3 separate regions of the Homo sapiens genome follow, and all the other regions are linked to region 1. Evidence: promoter capture Hi-C in human tissues and cell types (Jung and others, 2019). All regions are on one chromosome and are shown on one strand. The core of a region is centred on a gene start or on the middle of the fragment in contact, and the rest is flanking DNA. Distances in the headings are between cores, read along the strand shown. Region 1 holds the start of NUP210L (nucleoporin 210 like). Region 2 overlaps GATAD2B (GATA zinc finger domain containing 2B). Region 3 holds the start of AQP10 (aquaporin 10).

Region 1 (5,124 bases), core at 892-3,391:
AACATAGATTCTCACACTTCTTCCATGTTACATACTACCAGGTATATGTAAATGACACTTTTTAAAGAAGGAACATTGCTTAGGGATGCGATAATTAAACTGAGAGATTGATGAGAACTTTCCCAATGATCCCTTGAACAAAGTCCCAGAAATATCCCTCCCTCAATTTTTTTTAAAAGATTTTTATATTCTTCCCTCAGTATGCAGAAATACGACTGATGTGTTTCTAGTAATGAGAGGGGACTTTCTCATACTCTGAGGAAAGTTTCCTTCAATCCTAGAAACCAGGCTTCTGATATCTAGGATGGAAAAGGTGCCTAAATTATGAGGTGTGAGTCCAACTCAAAATACCAAAAACATTCATAAATATTTTTATTCTTATTTATTATTATGTTTTTGAGACCGAGTCACTTTGTTGCCCAAGCTGAAGTGCAGCAGGGCGATCTCAGCTCACTGCAACATTCGCCTCCAGGGTTCAAGCGATTCTCCTGCCTCAGCCTCTCGAGTAGCTGAGATTACAGGTGTCTGCCACTATGCCCGACTAATTTTTGTATTTTTAGTAGGGATGGGCTTTCATCATGTTGGCCAGGCTGGTCTTGAACTCCTGACTTCAAGTGATCTGCCTGCCCCGGCCTCCCAAAGTGCTGGGATTACAGGCGTGAGCCACTGCGCCCGGCCGAATGTTTTTATTTTAAATAGAGACGGGGTCTCACTATGTTGATCCGGCTGGTCTCAAACTCCTGGCCTCAAGTAATCCTCCTGCCTTGGCCTCCCAAAGTGCTGGGATTACAGGCGTGAGCCACCATGCCTGGCCTCATTAATATTTTTGGAGTGATAGAAGAAATGGCTTTCAATGCTGGAAAGATGCCTTGCATCACCCTCACGGTCAGGAAACACACACGTCACACTGGATCATCTTACAAGCTCACTTTCCTTATACTTCCTCATAAAATGAGAGGTGAATTTATACTCGGAACAAACCTCATTGCTTCTCCTAGGAGATGGCAAAGGGGTATCTACTCCATCTAGGATGAATGCACTGGCATCCTGAAGCTCACTTCGGTTAGGTTCTCTCATACCTTAGGCAACCACATAACCCATCATTGGGTCCTCTCACACCAGAAAATCATGTCTCTTCATCTTCAGTCAGGAAGTCATTATCCCGGAGTTGTGTGTACCCCCTGTCCTCACACTTCAAGCGGGTACCCTTTTATAAATGGGGCAATTTTGATAATACAGACAGATCTCATCTCCACCCACGATAAATCTTCTCATATTCCCAGAAGTTTACACTTCATAGTCTCTGGGCCTCACTTTCCTCGTCTGTGAAATGGGAGTAATAGTACTTACTTCATAAGACTGCAAAAAGCGAATGAGTTAACACATGTAAAGTGCTTAGTTAACCCCCAATACTTGGCTGTTGTGTTTTAAGTCCTTCTCACATTGAATAGCTCATCTATAGTTAGTGGGGACCCTCGCACCCCAAGTTTTCCTGTTCCTACAGAAATTTCCTCAGATATGGGGAACTTCCTCTTACTCTAGTTGTTTACATTGGAAGTCATCAGTACCTGTGGCCTCCAACACAGGGCTTCCCTTTACCCTGACGGCTGCTCATAGTGACCACCCCTTCCCAACACACACAGAGAAGAGGCCAGTCCCACATCCCGAGAATTCCTCACACGTCTGGAAGATTGTCACACAGCTGGAGGATATACCACATGAGTAGGACACGCCACACCCAAGGGTCTGCTCCTCGCCACCTTCACTGACACCACACTCTCCTCCCCTACCGGCTAGGCCCCTTCACGCGGCCCCACACGGTATTCCTGTGGGATCTTACAGAGGGAACCCCCCTCACCCTTACTGGATGGTAGTGAGGGTGCATATCCTTGTCACCCACCACCCCTCACCAAGTGTAGCAGCCCCGCTGGGCCTCCAGCAGGAAAGGCACCCGGCCTGGCTCTCGGCCGAAGGGTAGCAACACCTGTGGCACGTTAAGTTTGTTGGCCAGGGTCCCACGCAAAACCAGAAACAACAACAGGAGGCGGTGTAGACGCAAGAAGAAAAAGAGCCCGAAGCCTCGGCGTCTTGATGACGCCGGACAGCCAGTCATGGCGACTGCCAGGTCTCGGGTTCCCGCTCAACTACAGCCGGCTCACAGCTCCATCAGCCAATCCACAGGCGTGACGTCAGCAGAGGGGGATGGGACCTGCTTCTTGCTCGGATGTGTGGGCATTTTTAAATGCAGTCCTTCAGCAAGCCAATATAATGGAAACTTTTGGCACAAACCCAGCTAAAACACCTCAAACTCTCTTAAAGGGCTTTCCTAAATACTGGATGGCAGACCTTTTTAACAGTAAGGAACAAGCAGAAAAGTCTAAAAAAAACCCTTTAATTTCTTCCAGTTTTAATTTCTTCTGTTGCACACTGTTTATCTTAACACCACACCCTCCGCCCGACAAAAAAACTTTTTGCAATGATTTCCAGTTAGCATTGGTCCATGCCTATCAACGGAAAATTGTGCAGTCTCTGGGATAAACAGCTCGACTTTGTCAAGGGAACCGTGTATTTTTACTAGAAGTCAGATTCACGTCCGGCCTCCAGGCCAGAATGCAGGAAATGCCAGACACTGGCGTCTCAAAAGCAGCTTTCAAAGTTATCCACTCACACAGCCGGCCTCTAAGCAAATACTCTTGAGAGCACTTGTTGTTTTCTCCAAATATCCAAACAGAATATAAACTCAAAGCTGTTTCAGTACAGTTGGTTAAAACCACGCATTTATAGTAGTGATCAGCATTATATATTGTTTTAAGGAGCATAAATCCATAGTTTATAAGGATTGATATGGTTGTGAAGGAAAATGTATATAGTTCAGCCTGAGATGTCAGTGTTAACCTATAAAAGGCCCAGCACATTAAGTGTTCTTTCTAATCTTCATGTTTACTCTGACAATACTTATCTCCATTTTACAGATGATAAAACTAAACATTTGCTCTATATTAAATCCTGTTGCTCCAGCTGGGTGCGGTGGCTCACGCCCGTAATCCCAGCATTTTGGGAAGCTGAGGCAGGTGGATCACCTGAAGGTCAGGAGTTCGAGACCAGCCTGGCCAACATGGTGAAGCCCTGTCTCTACTTAAAATATAAAAAATTACCCGGGCATGGTGGCAGGTGCCTGTAATCCCAGCTACTCGGGAGGCTGAGGCAGGAGAATCTCTTGAACCAGGAGGCGGAGGTTGCAGTGAGCCGAGATCGAGCCATTACGCTCCAGCCCAGGCAACAAGAATGAAACTTCATCTCAAAAATAATAATAATAAAGAATAAATCCTGTTGCTACCACCCACAAAGATGCTATTTTTAACCCAAACCTCATAGCTTCTGTGGAGAAAGCACATTTAGTTTTAATAAATAAAAGTCAAATAGGTCTGAGGGTTGGAGGGACTGGTTCTTTATTTCAAAAAGACACTTGTCAATATTCAGTATCAAAACAGTTGCACTATTGATTTCTCTTTCTCCCAATCGGCCCCAAAGAGACCACATAAAAGGAGAGTACATTTTAAGCCAATAAGCTGCAGGATGTACACCTAACAGACCTCCTAGAAACCTTACCAGAAAATGGGGACTGGGTAGGGAAGGAAACTTAAAAGATCAACAAACTGCCAGCCCACGGACTGCAGAGGCTGTCACAGCCAGATGGGGTGGCCAGGGTGCCACAAACCCAAAGCAAAGTTTCAAAATAATATAAAATTTAAAAAGTTTTGTACATAAGCTATTCAAGATTTCTCCAGCACTGACTGATACAAAGCACAATTGAGATGGCACTTCTAGAGACAGCAGCTTCAAACCCAGAAAAGGGTAATGAGATGAGTTTCACATGGCTAAATCAGTGGCAAAAACACAGTCTTCTTTCTTTCTTTCTTTCAAGGAGGCAGGAAAGCAATTAAGTGGTCACCTCAACATAAGGGGGACATGATCCATTCTGTAAGCAGTTGTGAGGGGGTAGAGATGGGACAAAATTTTGGTCTCAGAGGTCTTACCATCTTAATTTGGTAACTTCTAATGAAAAAAATAAAAAATAGAAATAACATTATCCAAAGATATCTTAAAGCTGAAAACTTGAACAGCACATTTTTTGTTTTTGTTGTTGTTTGGCTAACTCCTCCTGGAATCACCTTTCTGGTTTAGCTAGTACTTTGTACAGAACAATGAGGTTTCCCACAGCGGAGTCTCCCTGGGCTCTGTTTGGCTCTCGGTAAGGCAGGCCTACACCTTTTCCTCTCCTCTATGGAGAGGGGAATATGCATTAAGGTGAAAAGTCACCTTCCAAAAGTGAGAAAGGGATTCGATTGCTGCTTCAGGACTGTGGAATTATTTGGAATGTTTTACAAATGGTTGCTACAAAACAACAAAAAAGGTAATTACAAAATGTGTACATCACAACATGCTTTTTAAAGACATTATGCATTGTGCTCACATTCCCTTAAATGTTGTTTCCAAAGGTGCTCAGCCTCTAGCCCAGCTGGATTCTCCGGGAAGAGGCAGAGACAGTTTGGCGAAAAAGACACAGGGAAGGAGGGGGTGGTGAAAGGAGAAAGCAGCCTTCCAGTTAAAGATCAGCCCTCAGTTAAAGGTCAGCTTCCCGCAGGCTGGCCTCAGGCGGAGTCTGGGTCAGAGGGAGGAGCAGCAGCAGGGTGGGACTGGGGCGTTCTACATCTCATTCAGGTCAAGCAGGGTCTGGTCCAGCATCCTTTGTGTACAGAGGTGCTCCTCTTTGGTGCATTTCAGTTTATCTAATGGGGGTAAAGGAGAGAAGTTACAAGAACTAGAAGTAAATTTCAAGGTCTACCCGCTCTTTGAGACTTGCTCCTGTTGCAGAGAAGCTGCAGACTGATAAAGCAGCTGCCTTCTCAGCCACAGAAGTGAGCTATTACATCACCCAGTTTTGTAGGGCCTTTGGCTTGCCTACTGAAGTTGTAGGTGTTGCTGCACTTCCTGGGTGAGGGAGTTAGGGCCCTTATCAGCCATTTCCTCTCCCTCCCACACCCAACCAACACTTTCAGCTTTCAGTCAATGAAAGAGCAAGCCTTAACCATCAGCCATCCACTTTTCTAGGTTTTGCCCACA
Region 2 (5,124 bases), core at 769-3,268, 240 kb before region 1:
ATAAAGGGCCTTGAATACCACTCAAAGTTTACATTTTAATCTTTTAATAACTGGAAACTACTAAATACTTTTAAGATGAGGAAAGTAGAATAATCAGTAAGTGTTAGACTATTTTGAAGGCACGATGATAGAGAGTTTACAAGAGAATAAGACAGCCGGGTGCGGTGGCTCACGCCTGTAATCCCAGTACTTTGGGAGGCCCAGGTGGGCGGATCACTTGAGGTCAGGAGTTTGAGACCAGCCTGGGGCAACATGGTGAAACCTCGTCTCCACTAAAAATACAAAAATTATCTGGGTGTAGTGGCAGACACCTGTAATCCCAGCTACTCAGGAGGCTGAAGCAGAACAATCACTTGAACCCAGGAGGTGGAGGTTGCAGTAAGCTAAGATTGCACCACTGCACTCCAGTGACAGAGTGAGACTCCACCTCAAGAAAAAAAAAAAAAAAAGAAAAAGAGAGTAAGACTATAAACAGATGTGTAAGCGATCAAGGCAATATCCCAAAATAAGAGCTGTTGAATGAGAACAGCAATGGAGACACAGAAGAAGCTAGATTCAGAAATATTTAGAAAGTAATAGGTAAGACAGAAGTGACAATGATGCTCACATTTCTGGTTTAGATGACTCAATGAATCACAGGGAAGAAATGATGTTGGAAATGTTGAGTTTGAGTACCAACTTGATACAAAGGTATAGATACGTCTAGCTCACAGTAGACAACCGGAAACAAAGGGCTGGAGTTTAGGAGAGAAATGATAATATATTGAATATATATGAAGTTTTTTTCAATAATCAAGTGTATTTTACCATTTTAACGGGAAGGCAATAATTTCATCATTATTTGCATTATGCTTTAAAGTTCACAAAACATTTTATGCTTGTATTTCATACTTTTGTTACATACAAACATGAGATTAGTATGACAGGTTATTTTTATTCCTATTGGATCAACAAACTTTTATTTGTTTATTTATTTATTTTTGAGAGAGAGTCTCACTCTGTTGACCAGGCTAGAGCACAGTGGCACAATCTCGGCTCACTGCAACCTCTGCCTCCCGGGTTCAAGCTATTCTCTGCCTCAGCCCCCCGAGTAGCTGGGATTACAGGCGCCCACCACCATGTCTGGCTAATTTTTGTATTATTAGTAGAGATGGGGTTTCACCATTTTGGCCAGGCGGGTCTTGAACTCCTGACCTCGTGATCTACCCCCCTCGGCCTCCCAAAGTACTAGGAATACAGGTGTGAGCCCCCGCACCCGGCCTATTTTTTTTTGAAACTGAGTCACACGCTGTCACCCAGGCTGGAGTGCAATGGCACGATCTCAGCTCACTGCAACCTCCACCTCCTGGGTTCAAGCAATTCTCTGCCTCAGCCTCCCGAGTAGCTGGGATTACAGGCAACTGCCACCATGTCTGGCTAATTTTTGTATTTTTAGTAGAGATGGGGTTTCACCATCTCGGCCAGGCTGGTCTTGAACTCCTGACCTCATGATACACCCGCCTCGGCCTCCCAAAGTGCTGGGATTTCAGGTGTGAGCCACCATGCCCCACATATCTTTTTTTTTTTTTGAAACTGAGTCTCACGCTATCACCCAGGCTGGAGTGCAATGGTGCAATCTCGACTCACTGCAACCTCCACCTCCCAGGTTCAAGCTATTCTCCTGCCTCGGCCTCTCAAGTAGCTGGGATTACAGGTGCCCACTGCCACGCCCAGCTAATTTTTGTATTTTTAGTAGACACGGGGTTTCACCATGTTGGCTAGGCTGGTCTCGAACTCCTGACCTCATGTGATCCGCCCGCCTCAGCCTCCCAAAGTGCTGGGATTACAGGCATGAGCCACCAACCCCGGCCAACAAACATTTATTATTAACTACATGCCAGGCACTGTACTAGGCACTAAACAAATTACCAAAACAAATCCATGCCTTCTAAGACCTACATCATAGAAAGAGAACCAATAGGCAATAAATGTAACAAATAAATATATTATAAAAGTGTTAAGTCCTATGAAAAAGAAAATAGAGCAGGCAAGGATAAGCATGAGGGATGGGAACTGACAATACAATTTTAAAGAAAGGAAGGATAAGACTTCATTAAAAAGGTGACATTTAAGCAAAGACGTTAAGGAGGTGAGGCAATCAGCCATTCTCTGTGGGGAAACCTAGCTGTTTTCCCACTAGAAGGAATCACTTGGTCTTAGGAACCTGCCAAGGTTCTAAGATAGAGTGTGACTGATCAGCATTCAAGGAGCAAGTCAGTGTGGCTGGAATGGAGAGAGCAAGAGGGAAGATGACAGCCGATCAAAAATGGAAGAGGTTGGGGAGGGCAAACCATGTAAAGCCTTAAAGGCTATTGCAAGGACTGGCATTACTCTGTCTGCAAGAAATGAGAATTCAAAAATTAGTAGCATTACCCAAAATCAGTTAGCTAATAAATCACAAAGCTAGAATTCAACCCAGGACTTCAAGGCTCTCCACAACCTGTGTTCCACTAGTCCAATCTGCCACATATTAGTTCATCCCCTCTCTTTCAGCAAGTTTGAGTTTAAATACTCTAAAAATGCTAACATTATAAAAATCCTCTGGGCAAGAGATGCACAAGTCTTTCAGTTAACATTTGCAATCCTTCACAATTATAATGAGAATTTATTAATCCTGGTGTCTAATCTAAATCCTACTAACATTCCAGCATGTATTTTTAAAGATTATAAATTCCACCCTCCCTTGAAATGAGACAAGCCGAAGAAAGCTTTGATCAAAAGATTTAAAGTACGACTCTCAGCTTTAGGTAACAGTAACCTGAATTATTTTTTTAAATGGATACTAAGGCCGGGCACAATGGCTCCATGCCTGTAATCCCAGCACTTTGGGAGGCTGAGGTGGGCAGATCACCTGAGGTCAGGAGTTCGAGACCAGCCTGGCCAACATGGTGAAACCGTCTCTACTAAAAATACAAAAATTAGCCAGGCATGGTGACAGGTGACTGTAATCCCAGCTACTTGGGAGGTTGAGGCAGGAGAATCACTTGAACCCAGGAGGCAGAGGTTGCACTGAGCTGAGATCACACCACTGCACTCCAGCCTGGGCAACAAGAGCAAAACTCCATCTCAAAAAATATAAAATAAAATAAAATAAAATGGAACTAGCCAGGTGTGAAAAACAGTAAGAGAATGGCTCAGGAATATGGAATTGCTATAATTTCCCTTAATTTCTTTAGCAGTTTACTAGTTATTATTAATAACAAGTTCACACATTGTCAAAGATGCTTCTGCAGTTACTATGATTCTTTGAGGTCTGGATCTGACCACTTCATATCTCAAAAGTAACGAATGATGTGTTCTTAGTAATCTGCTGCTTTTTGTACTATAACCCAAAACTGTTGATAGTTTCTTGCCAGCTGATGGCAACCTAGGTAAATGGCAAAGGTAAGGGGGATTTTGTGAGAGACAGCAAACATTACCAAGCCACCATCTAAATACCTCAGACAGGTTAAAAGCCCTAATGACCCTGGGACACTCCCTTCTTACTGGATGAATTCAAGCTATACAGGAATATTTCATATATCCACAAGGGAGAAGGTAAAAGATGGAACATGAGGAGGGGTCTGTTTCAAATCAGACCTATTCTTCAGAAGCTTTCATCACTGCTACACAAAGAAAGGAGGTTGCTGCTTCAAGGATTCTGGAGCCACCAAAATCCCCAAACAGGACCTACAGAAAAAGCTTCACAGAGACTACTGAGGATAAACCAAATAATATGGCTAATAGAAGATACACCACAAAATCCAGTCATTGTAACATAAACTGAACTTCCTTATATATCTTTTCCTAGGCTTAGCCAAAAGCAGGAGAACTGCAACTCTATGTGGTATTGTCTGATAGACTGGATTTTTTCCCCAAGCAAGAGGTGGACAGCTTTATGCCAGGACTAGATTTACAGTCAATCTGGGTGTGTGTCTTTACTTTTTCTTTCCCTCCAAACTACCTCAGAAAATGTCTGGCTATTGTGCCTTGATATGTAATAATGCAGGGCTTTAAGTACTGCAAAGGTCTGGAAAAGAAAGTCCCTCAGTCCCAGTTATGGCTCAAATCTTACGATTTCTCTAGCAGTTGTTTTAATCAACCAAAGCTGGTTGGCTTTTCTCAATGAGCCAAGCAACATGAGCCTTCTAAGTTAAGCGCAGAGGGGCTGCTTGTCAGCATGACTCCCAATGGGGTGGCTAACATGGAATATGCTCCAGAGTCTAGAAATCAGGACAGCACAGCTGCTGTTTTCCTCCACATGCACCTCCAGCTTGGTGGGTGGGGGAGGAAAGGAAGAAGAATCAGTAAATTGAAACAGGAGGAATGCTTTACATGCAACACACAAGACTCACTGCTTAAAGGTGAGATGAATTCAGAGGTCTCAACACATGATTAGGATACCTTCACTGACACAATGGTCCCCAAAATTCAACCTGGAGGTCCAGCCTTGCCCGTCTGGCAAAAAAAGGGGAGAAGGGGGCAAAACCCCAAAATGGGGGACAGCATACAAGCTTTTGAAAGTACTTTAAGGTTGTGAGGCTCAGAACAAATTCCTCACACTTCCCTCTGCCACCACCCTGTGGCCCTATGCTAAGCACAGCAGTAAAAGTTACTGCCAGAATTTAGATTTGAAGGGCTGATCAGGGAACCTGGTTAACACTGTTCCTAGAAAAGTATTTGAGTGCAGCCTATATTCAGACCCTACTGGGACTGCCTCTAAACAGGAAGTTAACACACATCACATACGGTCAGGGAAGGCAAACCACAGTGTCATAAAGATGGATGCTGCTGTCAACTACAAATCACTCTCACCTCATGGAGAGTGTTCTCAAGTAAGGAATAATAGGCAGGACAAAAGTCTGTAAGCCTCACCTCTACTCAAACTGGGTCACTCAGCCTATAGATTCAGCCTTCTGATTCCTGCTGATTAGTACTTTTCTACCTTGTTCCATGATGACTATCACTGCCACTGGACTAAAAAAACTCTATTCCCCTAAAAAGTGAAGACAGCCTTACCATCAACTAGTTATTCATATAAGCTATCTGCTTATATGAATCCGATCCTTGACCCAGTCCATTCCCAAATGGCCAGGGACTAGATAT
Region 3 (5,124 bases), core at 1,603-4,102, 170 kb after region 1:
TTGGGATTACAGGCATGAGCCATCCCGCCTGGCCCATACCAACACTTTCCAACTGAGCTCCTCTCTACCACGAATATGAGAGATTCTAAGAGTTAGGCAAAAATATCATCGCCCCTATTCATCCTGAAGAACTTACAGAAGATGGACCTTCGTCCCTCTGCAACCCTTAGGATTAGTGCTTCTCTTATAAAAGGAAGGGGGGAAATGTCAGAGGCACGTGAACCAGAGCAAGTCTATTTTGAACAAGAGCTGAGTAAAATGAGAATGAGACTTACTGGGCTGCATTCCCAGATGGTTAAAGCATTCTAAGTTACAGAATGAGATAGGAGGTTGCCATAAGATACAGGTCATGGCCGGGCATGGTGGCTCATGCCATGACAGTTTATAAATGCCATGACAATGACAGGAAGTTACCCTATATGGTCTAAAAAGGGGAGGCATGAATAATCCACCTCTTGTTTAGCATATCATCAAGAAACAACCATAAACATGGGCAACCAGCAGCCCTCGGGGCTGCTCTGTCTATGGAGTAGCCATTGTTTTATTCCTTTACTTTCCTAATAAACTTGCTTTCACTTTACTCTATGGACTCGCCCTGAATTCTTTTTTTCTTTTTTTTGAGGCGGAGTCTCGTTCTGTCACCCAGGCTGGAGTGCAGTGGTGCGATCTCGGCTCACTGCAACCTCCACCTCCCGGGTTCATGCCATTCTCCTGCCTCAGCCTCCCAAGTAGCTGGGACTACAGGCGCCCACCACCATGCCCGGCTAATTTTTTTGTATTTTTAATGGAGACGGGGTTTCACCATGTTAGCCAGGATGGTCTCAATCTCCTGACTTTGTGATCCCGCCTTGGCCTCCCAAAGTGCTAGGATTACAGGCATGAGCCGCCGCACTCAGCCTGAATTATTTCTAGTGTGAGATCCAAGAACCCTCTCTTGGGATCTGGATTCAGACCCCTTTCCTGTAACAAGATTAGGCACCAGGAGAAACTGACACACATGGATGATATAACAGATGCCTAAATGGATCCTATGGGGGAACTGGAGCTGGAACAGCCCTTTAGAGTTGTCGCAAAGTGAGGCAAAGAGGCTAGACTTTTATATCCCTCCATCAATCAGTGTTTGACATGGGCCCCATAGGAGGGCATGTAACCTTCGGTGAGGCATCTTTCTGACTTGAAGGGCATTGCCCAATGAGGGAGGTAGCTATGTGGTATCAGCAGCTGGTATTTCCTACATGTAGCGAATGGGCATATTGGCTCCCAAGGGGGAATCTGGGTGGAGCACTATAGTATCCATTAAACCTAGTAAAGAAATATTATTTCTTTACTAGTCACACAGATGTGCCCAGGACAGTGGTAGAGCCCACAGGGTTACATAAATCATAATGGTAGCCCTCAAGAACTTCATAAACTGTATATGGTATTTTAAAAAGTTGCATATTGTCTGTTTCCACCTACTAGAACATAAGCTCTAGGAGGGCAGAGACTATGTTTTGTTCACCACTGTTTCTCCAGTGTCTAGACGTAGATTCTTTGAATGCATTTAATTGGAGCCTTGAGATATGAAGAAGTAGGATGCGGTTACTTCATGCAGAGCAAGAGTGGCATGCACCCAGAGAAGGCCAGGTGGAGCTCAGCATGAGTGTGAAGGCCTCATGTCAAGCCATGTCAGGGGACACAAAGATGGAGTATTCTCTAACCTATGTGACACTCGGCATAAGGGAAGTACAAGCACTCAATATGTGAGTTTCATTCCCACAGTCTGTGGTCTTTAGCCCAGTCTTTCCAGATGCCTATTGAGTTCTTCAAGCATCCAAATGGTTTGGGGTAAGGCTTCAGGTTCTAAATGAGAGGCTTTGTGGGTTACCAGCTGGAGAGTCAGAAAATCTGGATTTGAATTCACTCAGCCATGAAATAATTGTGTGATCTTGGGCCGGGCACGGTGGCTCACGCTTGTAATCCCAGCACTTTGGGAGGCCAAGGAAGGTGAATCACTAGAGGTCAGGAGTTTGAGACCAGCCTGGCCAACATGGTGAAACCCCGTCTTTTTTTTTTTTTTTTTTTTTGAGACAAAGTCTCGCTCTGTTGCCAGGCTGGAGTGCAGTGGCACAATCTCGGCTCACTGCAACCTCCGCCTCCCTGGTTCAAGTGATTCCCCTGCCTCAGCCTCCCGAGTAGCTGGGACTACAGGCGTGCACCACCACGCTAATTTTTTTGTATTTTAGTAGAGATGGAGTTTCACCATGTTGGCCAGGATAGTCTTGATCTCCTGACCTCGTGATCTGCCTGCCTCGGCCTCCCGAGAAACCAAGTCTTTACTAAAAAATATCAAAATTAGCCAGGTGTGATGGACCTGTAGTCCCATCTACTTGGGAGGCTGAGGCAGGAGAATTGCTTGAACCTGGGAGGTGGAGGTTGCAGTAAGCTGAGATGGTGCCACTGCACTCCAGCCTGGGGGACAGAGCAAGACTCTCTCTCAGAAAAAAAAAAAAAAAAAGTTTGATCTTGGGGAGTTCTAAGGCCCACTAGCCTCATCTGTAGAATGGAAGCAATAGTACTACTTTGCAGAGCTGACTTCAGGACCAAGAGATCTAATGTCTATGAAGCGGGGTACTTCCTTCTATTTGTCAGGATGGGGGAGGCTAGTCCTGTGATGACTGGGAATGAAGGGTAAAAGAGACAGAGGTTGGGTAAACTCCAGGCTCTGTGTTCATAGCCTGCTCCCAGACATTCTCTTGTTATCTCTCTGTTTCCTAGCCTACACACGTGCACAGACACGTAGCTGCTGTTCAGGAACTGAGCTAATGGTTTTAAAGTCTGTTCCTTATCTTTGCTGGAGGCAGGCAGTAGCTGTGCAGTGACAGTGTGCCTATGCAGACAGAGGGAGCAGTGAATAGCAATAGGGTGTTTCCACCATGGTCTTCACTCAGGCCCCGGCTGAAATCATGGGCCACCTCCGGATACGCAGCCTCCTGGCCCGGCAGTGCCTGGCAGAGTTTCTGGGTGTGTTTGTACTCATGGTAGGTAGGATCACTGCGGGAAGGAAAGAAGGGGGTTGGGCAAAAGTTCCTGGCTCCTTCTGTTGTCCTTATCTCTTTCTCTTGGTGTCCCCCTTCCTCTCAACTCCCTATCACTTTTCGTTTTTATCCTCTCGTCTCTCCTAATCTCCTTTCCTCTCCTACTTCATCATTTTTATTCTTGTCATTTTTATTCTTTCTTTAATAACAAGTGTATCATAGTTCTTGAAACATAATTTTTCTCTCTTCAGTTTCCCATTTTTATGAAAGACCATTTTCATGGTAAGACCAATGTGCTTTATTATACTTGGCCTGATGATTGTATAAAGTGCAGCAAGAATAATTATTTTTCACATAGGCTTTTAAAATTGGCTTTGATGGAACTCTTCCATAGAAAGAATCTTAGATAAGACTTTTTAAAGCTGAGCCCTGCCATGGGTTTGTACCCTCAAATGCCTATGAGTTGGGTAAATTCTTTTCTTTTTTCCCACATTCTTTCCCTTTCTTCTTCCTCCACTTTCCCCATTTCTTTTCCCTTCCCTCCTTCTGCTTTTCTCCTTCCCTTGCTTGTCTTCTGTGCTCATTCATCTCCTTGGCTGCTCCCCTGGCCTTCCCAACCTTTCTCCCTGTTGGTCTCCTGGGCTCCCTGTTCCTCATCTCTCCTCTTCTCAGCAGCTCCTCACCCAAGGAGCTGTGGCCCAGGCTGTCACCAGTGGAGAAACCAAAGGCAACTTCTTCACCATGTTTCTGGCTGGCTCTCTGGCCGTTACGATAGCCATCTACGTGGGTGGTAACGTCTCAGGTGAGGAGGGTGGGGTCTGGTCATCAGAGCACGTGGGATGTGCATGCCAGTTTGTCTGTCTGGTGATGGTGGAAACGCAAATCCTTCTGTGACTCGTGGACATTATCCCCTTGAACAGTGTCCCAGACTGAAATAAGCCTTTGGCCCCACCAGCCCCTCCTCTTTCTGTATCTCTCCATCCTGCTTCCTCACACTAATGCTTGGCTCACCTAGACAGAAATCAATGGCAGGGCACGAAGGGCAGCTGCTATCCTCTTGTATCCCCCACCTGAAGTCCTCTGGGGGCTCATCTCCACTCAGGACCTCTCCTGTTTGTACCCCAGATACACACTGCATCGGTGTGCTTGGGTGGAGCCTTGAGACATAGTGTGTTGCTGTGGAAAAAGCAGACAGACCTAGGTTCCAACTTTGGATTCACAGTGTCTTCTTCTTTTTTTTTTTTTTTTTTCTTTTTTTTTGAGATGGAGTTTCACTCTGTTGCCCAGGCTGGAGAGCAGTGGTGTGATGTCTGTTCACTGCAACCTCTGCCCCTGGGTTCACGCGATTCTCCTGCCTCAGCATCCCGAATAGCTGATTTTACAGGCACCTGCTACCACGCCTGGCTAATATTTGTGTTTTTAGTGGAAACGGGGTTTCACCATGTTGGCCAGGCTGGTCTGGAATTCCTGACCTCAAGTGATCCACTGCCTCGGCCTCCCAAAGTGCTGGGATTACAGGCGTGAGCCACTGTGCCTGGCCCACAGTGTGACTTTGCTAAGTCACTTAACATCTGTAACATCTGGAGCCTCAATTTCCTAAGCTGTGTGATGAGAATTACACTATCTGCCTTAAGAGCTATAGGAAGGAGCAGTAGTGTTGTCTGGTGACAATGCCTGGCAGTGACACTTAATAGATGCTCTTTTTCTTTCCTTGATACTTGAAGGGGCCCACCTGAATCCAGCCTTCTCCCTGGCCATGTGCATCGTTGGACGCCTCCCCTGGGTCAAGCTCCCCATTTACATCTTGGTGCAGTTGCTGTCTGCTTTCTGTGCTTCGGGAGCCACCTATGTTCTCTACCATGGTGACAGAGGGAACAGAGGGAGCTGTGCCTTGAGAGCACCTGTGGGTGGGCAGGGGTGCCTCAGAATGGTTTTGGATGAATGAGCAAAGAGGGAAATCCTGGGTGTTCCCTTCCTCCACAGATGCCCTACAGAACTATACAGGTGGGAACCTGACAGTGACTGGCCCCAAGGAGACAGCCTCCATTTTTGCCACCTATCCTGCCCCCTATCTGTCCCTGAACAATGGCTTCCTGGATCAGGTAAG

The links. The method cuts DNA at HindIII sites, captures the fragments that hold promoters and counts their contacts. A contact is called where the count stands out against the background at its distance.
Region 2: a fragment that was not itself captured here is called in contact with the fragment with the promoter of NUP210L in region 1 in 1 of the 25 tissues and cell types used here (adrenal gland).
Region 3: the fragment with the promoter of AQP10 here is called in contact with the fragment with the promoter of NUP210L in region 1 in 1 of the 25 tissues and cell types used here (aorta).

Annotation. Positions count from the first base shown.
Region 1 is chr1:154,152,932-154,158,055 of GRCh38, forward strand. It overlaps NUP210L (nucleoporin 210 like), which reads right to left and starts at 2,142. Exons shown (of 40, transcript NM_207308.3): 1 at 1,911-2,142. The coding sequence starts at 2,113. It also overlaps a transcript of TPM3 not described here. RefSeq lists enhancers at 1,475-1,975, 1,976-2,476 and a silencer at 3,083-3,260. The HindIII fragment of the contact is 16,458 bases long and covers 1-5,124 here.
Region 2 is chr1:153,915,845-153,920,968 of GRCh38, forward strand. All of the region lies in intron 1 of GATAD2B (GATA zinc finger domain containing 2B), which reads right to left. Among named protein-coding and RNA genes, the nearest start is that of GATAD2B, 4.6 kb to the right of the region's middle. The HindIII fragment of the contact is 5,978 bases long and covers 1-5,007 here.
Region 3 is chr1:154,318,241-154,323,364 of GRCh38, forward strand. AQP10 (aquaporin 10) reads left to right here and starts at 2,853. Exons shown (of 6, transcript NM_080429.3): 1 at 2,853-3,020; 2 at 3,693-3,819; 3 at 4,742-4,879; 4 at 5,001-5,119. The coding sequence starts at 2,916. RefSeq lists a silencer at 2,632-2,823. The HindIII fragment of the contact is 14,849 bases long and covers 1-5,124 here.